2 separate regions of the Homo sapiens genome follow, and region 1 is linked to region 2. The links are contacts of gene promoters, found by promoter capture Hi-C in human tissues and cell types (Jung and others, 2019). All regions are on one chromosome and are shown on one strand. Each heading gives the region's core, a stretch centred on a gene start or on the middle of the fragment in contact. The rest is flanking DNA. Distances are from core to core; before and after follow the strand shown.

Region 1 (3,426 bases), core at 295-2,794, 69 kb after region 2:
TTCTGAGTGCTTTTAATATGTGTCATATTATTTTATATCTACAAATCTTAATTTCATTATTAGTGAGACAGGGACAAGACTGGCATAAACCTTAGGACTATTGTGAAGAAAGATGACAAATTTGATTATAAACCAGTAACAGTCAAATCTATATATTCCATGGAATGCAGAAAGAATGTATCAGAGAGTGATCTGGGTTTTGATGGGTAGGAAGATGTTCATCCGGTATAGAATAAATGACAGCATCTTGCAGGCAGGAGGAACTACACATGCAAAGGTGCAGAAACAGGGCAGAGGATGGTGCACCTGTGGCCTGTGGATATGGCTGCTTGGTGGATGGAGCATCAGGGGTGTATGTGGGTGGCGGAAGTGTGAGGAGAATACCTTGAGGTGGGGATTTGAAAAAGAAGAGTAATCTCAGAGGTCCTCCTCCACTGTGCTGAATGGGGAAACAGAAAATTTAGGAAAGTGAAATGATCAGATCCCTATTGTGTTTGCTTGTGTCTATTGGAAAGGATTTTCAAGACCATTTGTTTTGCTCTTAATTTTTATTTACTTAAGTCCTCCAAAGGATCTGGATCACTCAGGATTCAGAGGGCAGGTGGTGCATATGGGTCTTCCAGAGAGCAGACATTAATATATTAGAAGCCAGAGGCCCAGGGTATTGATTGCTTTGAGCTGTATCTTCCAAATGTGCACCAGAATCACCAAAGGAAAGAGGTAACAACTTTTTCCTTACCACTGTAACTACTGGAGGTGAGTCACTTGGTATTTCTAAAACCACAGGTATACTCCAGATAGCCTTGAAAGACACACCCTTGTTGGTGAAAATACGTTAACTAAAGGGAAGCAAGTATACTAAGGTGCTCAGTAGCTCAATTTTAGTATAGTTTGTTTATACATTTTTGAGTTTTTATTTTCCCTGAGGCTTATGCTGTAGTGATTTAGGGACTCTATAGTTCAAATAAATTCTGTAACACAGACAGCTGACACAGAGGACTAGAATGTTAAAGTCCTGCTCATTCCTTGCCTATTTCCAGTTAACACTCATATAAAAAGAAAAAAAAAGTTCACTTTACAAATAGTCAACTAAAAGATATAAGAACTTTAGTCATTGAAATGACTTTTTTAGCCTTTAATGGAATGGCAATTTTAAGATACAATCTCTCTACCTTCATAGGCAAATCCTTGCAAATCAATAAATTGGAATTTCTTCATGAATTCTTAACACTCACAGTGAGATTTGTAGTGACAGCTCTAGGTTCAAAAGTGCATTCCTGTTGTAAGTGGACAACATGGGATCATCCAGTGGAATGAAGTCCAGTATTACACACACAGCTGTACTCTGAGATGTAATTTTAGACGTCAGGATAATGTATGTTGAAGCTGTGTAAAACCACAATCCACCAGTGGATCATGATGCCTTTTGGCAAACTGTTGTTTATTGTATTAGTCTCCTTTGGCTGTTCAATGATCTGGGAAGCTGACGGATCGGAATTTGTCACTTAAGCCATTCATCCTCAGCTGCCAGGAGGTGGGCACATTCTGACCTCTGGCATTAAAGCTGGGCAGAGTTCCATATGCCATTCTATGAAGAATGTAGTCACATAGCTCCAATAAAGACATCCTGTTTAGCAATACAGTGTGAAGAAAACTTCACAACAATTGTTTAGATATTTTCTGTCCATTTTAGTTGGGTAGAAGTCTGTTTTCCTTTCACCCATGTATAAAATAAAAGGGTGTCTTGAAATGGTGTATTAGAATGTGTTTCTCCTCTAGCACTAACTTGAAAACATCCAAACTTATTTTCCTGAAAACACATAAAAACTGCTAAGCTGAGACCTGATATATCAAGTTTCAGCCTGAAGAATTTTTTTGAGCCAATGGTTTATGCAGAAAATGCTGACAGATGTTGAACAGCCTCAGCAAAGCAATTTTTAAGGGAGTCCTGGGCAACAGACCATGTGGCTGCTTTGGAAGTGCTAAATTCTTATTGCTAAAAAAGTTTACTTTAAAAAATCCTAGTATTTATTATATTAAAATTTTAACAAATATTTGGAGAAAACCATCAATTATTCTATAGCAGAAGCTTTGGAACTCACTAGTTCCCATTTTGTGTATTCATTCTCTGGAACACAAAAATTTCTTAGATTTATCATTCTAAAAGGTCAGATAAGAGTCATACTTCTGGAATTATGACCTTTGAAGCAAAAGGTGTAATATCTAAATTTTTTTAATTGCCATGGGAAGTCTCAGAAACCAAGAGAATATAGATGGTAAACATTTGTGGCACTAAATTTTCCTTCCTAAGATACTAAAATATGAGTCAGGAGAACTACAAACAACACAGGTCTGATCAGAAACAACTGAATGTTTATAAGTGTTCTACAAGGGTTGCAGACTTTCCCAGGAGGGTAATAATTTAAAGGATGTCAGTGGATGCAAATGAATTTCAGCCATAGAAAGGAAGAAGAGGTGAATAGTACTTTTGTCTCTGGGAGACTTGGAATTTCAGACAGGCTCCATTTTGGATAATTCTATTTAGCCTGTCTACATTTTCTGATGTTGTTTCAGTTGGGAATGATAGAATGATATTCCTTATCCTGCATCCTGAACTGTTCAGCAGTGTCATGCTATGCTGTTAACAGCTGCCTGCCTCCATGTATATACAGATAGATGAGTTCCCTGCTGATATAAAAAGATTTTATGAATTGTGTCTTGTGTAAAAGAGAGCACTTTTAATGTGAGTGAGAACTGGAGCTTTTTTCTTCTCCCATGATTTCATTAGCATACCCCAGGCTCTGATATTCTAAAAGATTATCTAGATACTTTATTGCATTGCTAGGTTCCTTGAAGAATTGTTTTACGTTACGTTTTCTCCTAAACTAACTACAGAATTTCCTTTCTTCCTCTGTAGTGATACCACGACAGTTAAGTAATCTTTGAAAAGGCTGAATATCACCTAAATAATCAAATGGCACAAAAATATTGGTTTGCAAAAAAAATCCAGCTCTCTGTGTTCATCAGCATATTAAGTCACTAGCTGTAAGAATATTCCACATACAAGACACACAAACACACACACACACACACACACACACACAAGATAAAATGGAAGGGTATGAAAAATGTGAGCAACTTTGCAATGTTATTACTATGCCAAAAAGTCCTGAGGAAGGGCTGAAACTCCAAGTCAACTGCCACTAATCACCCAGAAGGTGACTTTCATTTATTATATTCTTTGTTGGAAAAAAATGATAACGTGATTAGTTAAAAGGATATATATGTATATGCCTAGTAGGCTTATCAGGATTGCATAATTTGAAAAAAGAACAGGCATTTTTATTTTCAGAAATCGATACCAATTTAGCATTTCCTATGTATTATGTGGGCACACATAGCACAGCATACATGTTTACCACTTTG
Region 2 (3,458 bases), core at 467-2,966:
AAGGCAGTTCCCTTTTGGCCCAGGGTATATCTAGAAATGTCATCCAAGAGCTAGGGCCTGCAATGAGTGCCTCAGGATTTTGCCCAGTACCCTATCCTACTCTGGCTGAACTGGTATCCAAGTTGCAAGACAAAGTCCTTTTCACTCTTCCCTCTTCTCTCCTCAAGCAAAGGAAGGAGTCCCTTTTGGAGCCATAAGCTGTGTTGCCTGGGGTTGGGGGAGGGGTGCTGTAAGCACTTACTTAGCCATCCTGGCTGGTGTCTTACTAGATCGTGCGCTCCCCAGTCCACTGGCTCAGAGCCCAGCACAGCACTAGGACTTGCCTGGGTATTGCAGTTGTTGTGGCCCAGACAGGCTTTCAAGTTTATTTAGGACCTCAGAGCACTTTAGCCCATGGTGGTGGAGGTAGTCAAAACTCAGTTTCTGAAACCTGGGATGGGCAATTCTCCTCTGGCTAAGGGTGGTCTAAATGGTCCCTCCATTGGCAACAGCTAAGTTCTGCCCCGTATTGGCAGCACTGAATTCTAGAGTCCCACAATCGCTGTGCCCTCCCTCCAAGTGCACAGATTCTCTCTCCACACTATGTGGCTGCTGCCAGGGGATGGGGGAGGGGTGGTGTCAGCAATTCAAGATTGTCTTTCTTATCTTCCTCAGTGCTTCTTTCAACAATACGAAGTTAAAACCAGGTACTGTGATCACTTTGTGATCACTGATTTTTGGTTCTTATGAAGGTGCTTTTTTGTGTAGATAGTTGTTAAATTTGATGTTCGTGCATGGAGAACAATCAGTGAAGGCTTCTGTTTGGCCATCTTGCTCTGCGTCCTCCCCAACTTAGGATTTTTTTACTTTATCATGGGTTCATCAGGGTATTGCATGCATTTTTGACTTACAATATTTTCAACTTGTGGTGGTTTATTGAGATGTAACCCTATCATAAGTCAAGGAGCACCTGTACTATGGTAATAGAGACAGCTAGTATATCCCTTTAAATAGGAAACATACAGTGTCATAAGCTCAATGTGATTTATTCAGATTTAGACCCTAGTAATTATAAAAGTCTATACAAGTTTTTTTTTCTTTCTCAGCAATCTTAACTTCCTGTGACTGAGATTCATTGTTTTAAAGTGCATTCACAGTTGAGAAGGTTTACTTCAGAATCTCAGGGAACTGCACTAAAGAATCTGGTATCAATTTTCTGAGGATTTAAAAAAATCATACTTAAATGCTGAGTTATAAAAGATGTTGGCAAGTACAACATTTTTTCCAAACTATACGATAAAGAGCATTGAAATTTATCATGCCCCAAACCCATTAAAATTATCTTCACCTGTAACTGAACATCAGCTGTTATTTCCTTACCTTCTTTTGGCTTTCAACTTCTAGGATGTCTGTTGAAACACCCCTCAATGTTTATGTGGCCTCCAAGGCATACAAACATTTACCAGGGTAACCCCATAAGGAAAGAATTGGAAGTTTCATTTATTTTTTTCCTACCTTTAGTTCTCTTTTTTCCATCTTTCAGATCTTTAGATGTTCTGAGTTTTTCTAGCTGGAGACTGGGGAAACCTAGCTCCCCTCACTGTGGCCAGTGGAAGACTGCTGTGGAGAACCTGAATCCAAAGTGTTTTTTGTTAGGAGACGAAGTAAACAGGCCAGTTTACAGTTTCAATACCAGTATGCCTTTTTCTCTACCAACATCTGTGTGATTTACATCTTGAATCATATAATTCCATTCAGAATGAAAAGCTCAGTTTCTGATTGGCTGAAATGAGTTCTAGTATTCCTTTCTTTGTTAGAAGTCAAAATCACAATGTTCTGGAACATTAGCATGTGTTGGGTAAAGTTGATAACAGTATACTAAAACTCAGATAGCTGCTTCAGTACTGAAGTCAGAACAGTTCTCCCTGGAAAGACAACCAAACTTTTCTCTTATTGTAGCACTACATTGTAATTGCTTATTTAGCTATTTTGTAAGCTACTTTTATTCTGTTACTTCTCTGGTATTCCCAGGGTCCAGGACATTATCATGAATTCAAGAAATGTTTGATGCATAAATAAAGGAATGAAAATATATAAGGAATATTATGTTTACTAAAGGCATAATAGTTTGGCTCTTCCTGACTATCCTGAGTTATGATCAACTCTGAAAAAGGGAGTAATTTTTCAAGTCTATTAAACATAGCAGGGTGGAGGTGGAGGTAAGAAGAGTTGGGGAAAGGTATATTATGAAACATAGAAATACTATTTACTAAATACATATTAACAAATCTTAGCATAATTTAATTTTACTCCAGGCTGCCCCCCATCCCTTTCCCCTGCCCTCTTTTTTCTTGCCTATAGAATGTAAGGAAGGGAACACACTTCTTTGTTAAGGAAAACTGAGTAAGGTTGTCATTTCATTCTGTTATGACTGGAGTTTTTCCTTCTCATCATTCATCAGGTCAATTTAAGTTTTATACATCTAAACTGTGTAACACTGCATATAAAAATAAGTCCATGTTTAAGACAAAGTGGAAAAGTACCAAACACTTTTAAAAAATGAATTGAAGAAAACCTTCTCTTTGACAACTTCGGTTTTCATTTGGGGAGGTGGTATGAAATCATCTAGGTACATTTTTGTCTATTGGGATGAAGAATGCTATCCACTAAGAATATTGATTTAAAAATCAAATGCCTGGACTGGAGGGGAAGGAAAGGACAAAAGACTGCATGCTATGTGCTATTTTACATCAAGTCACCTCCTTCCTGCTATACATGAGCTTCAGTTGATGCCTTGGTTTGGAGCCTTTGAACTTTCTTAGTTATCACTGATTTTAAATGGTAGTCACTGGACCGGGGATACAATTAAAATAATGTAACATGCCATATGAACATTTTAAACCAAGAAACTGATTTTTCATTTTTGAGTGGAGAACTCAGTCCTTAAAAAAATTTGTGGTCCGAAGAAACAGCATTACTAATGAGGACTCTCCCTTTTACAACTGGGGGTTCCTGCCCACATCTTCCAAATACCTCCTTTGCCAGGGCTTGCCTAGGTCAGATGTGAAGTAAATAGAACTGATGAATGATTTTTTTGACTCTCTTGTCATGTAGTTTTCTGTCATCTTAATATGCTGAAGGGGAGCACATTCAGAAGTGATCTCATTTGAGAAGGACTACTTTCAAGTTCTATTTTAGGCCACATAAATTTTCAAAAAATAAAATTCTGAATTAAATCTTAAACCTTTGGGAAGGCTTCAGATCACATATTTGGTGGAATGTACTATATTACCTAAATAATAAACATTTTATTTGGATACATCTTTGGGATGCTTGTTAAAAAATTATAGATTAAAATTTTAGTGTTAGAATTACCATTTGAGGATAGAGGAATAAAAAGTTCTCTATTCCTTCAAACTTATATGGACTCCATTTTTCTAGTGCTTTACTGACATCATGAAGAGTCTTTCTTCTCAAGG

The links. The method cuts DNA at HindIII sites, captures the fragments that hold promoters and counts their contacts. A contact is called where the count stands out against the background at its distance.
Region 1: a contact is called between a fragment that was not itself captured here and the fragment with the promoter of C1orf105 in region 2, in 2 of the 25 tissues and cell types used here (aorta and hippocampus).

Annotation. Positions count from the first base shown.
Region 1 is chr1:172,349,995-172,353,420 of GRCh38, reverse strand. The region is part of intron 17 of DNM3 (dynamin 3); the gene reads right to left. Among named protein-coding and RNA genes, the nearest start is that of C1orf105, 69 kb to the left of the region's middle. The HindIII fragment of the contact is 7,147 bases long and covers 1-3,426 here.
Region 2 is chr1:172,418,943-172,422,400 of GRCh38, reverse strand. It overlaps C1orf105 (chromosome 1 open reading frame 105), which reads right to left and starts at 1,716. Exons shown (of 7, transcript NM_139240.4): 1 at 1,495-1,716. The coding sequence starts at 1,515. The region is part of intron 1 of LOC102724528 (a long non-coding RNA gene); the gene reads left to right. The HindIII fragment of the contact is 11,853 bases long and covers 1-3,458 here.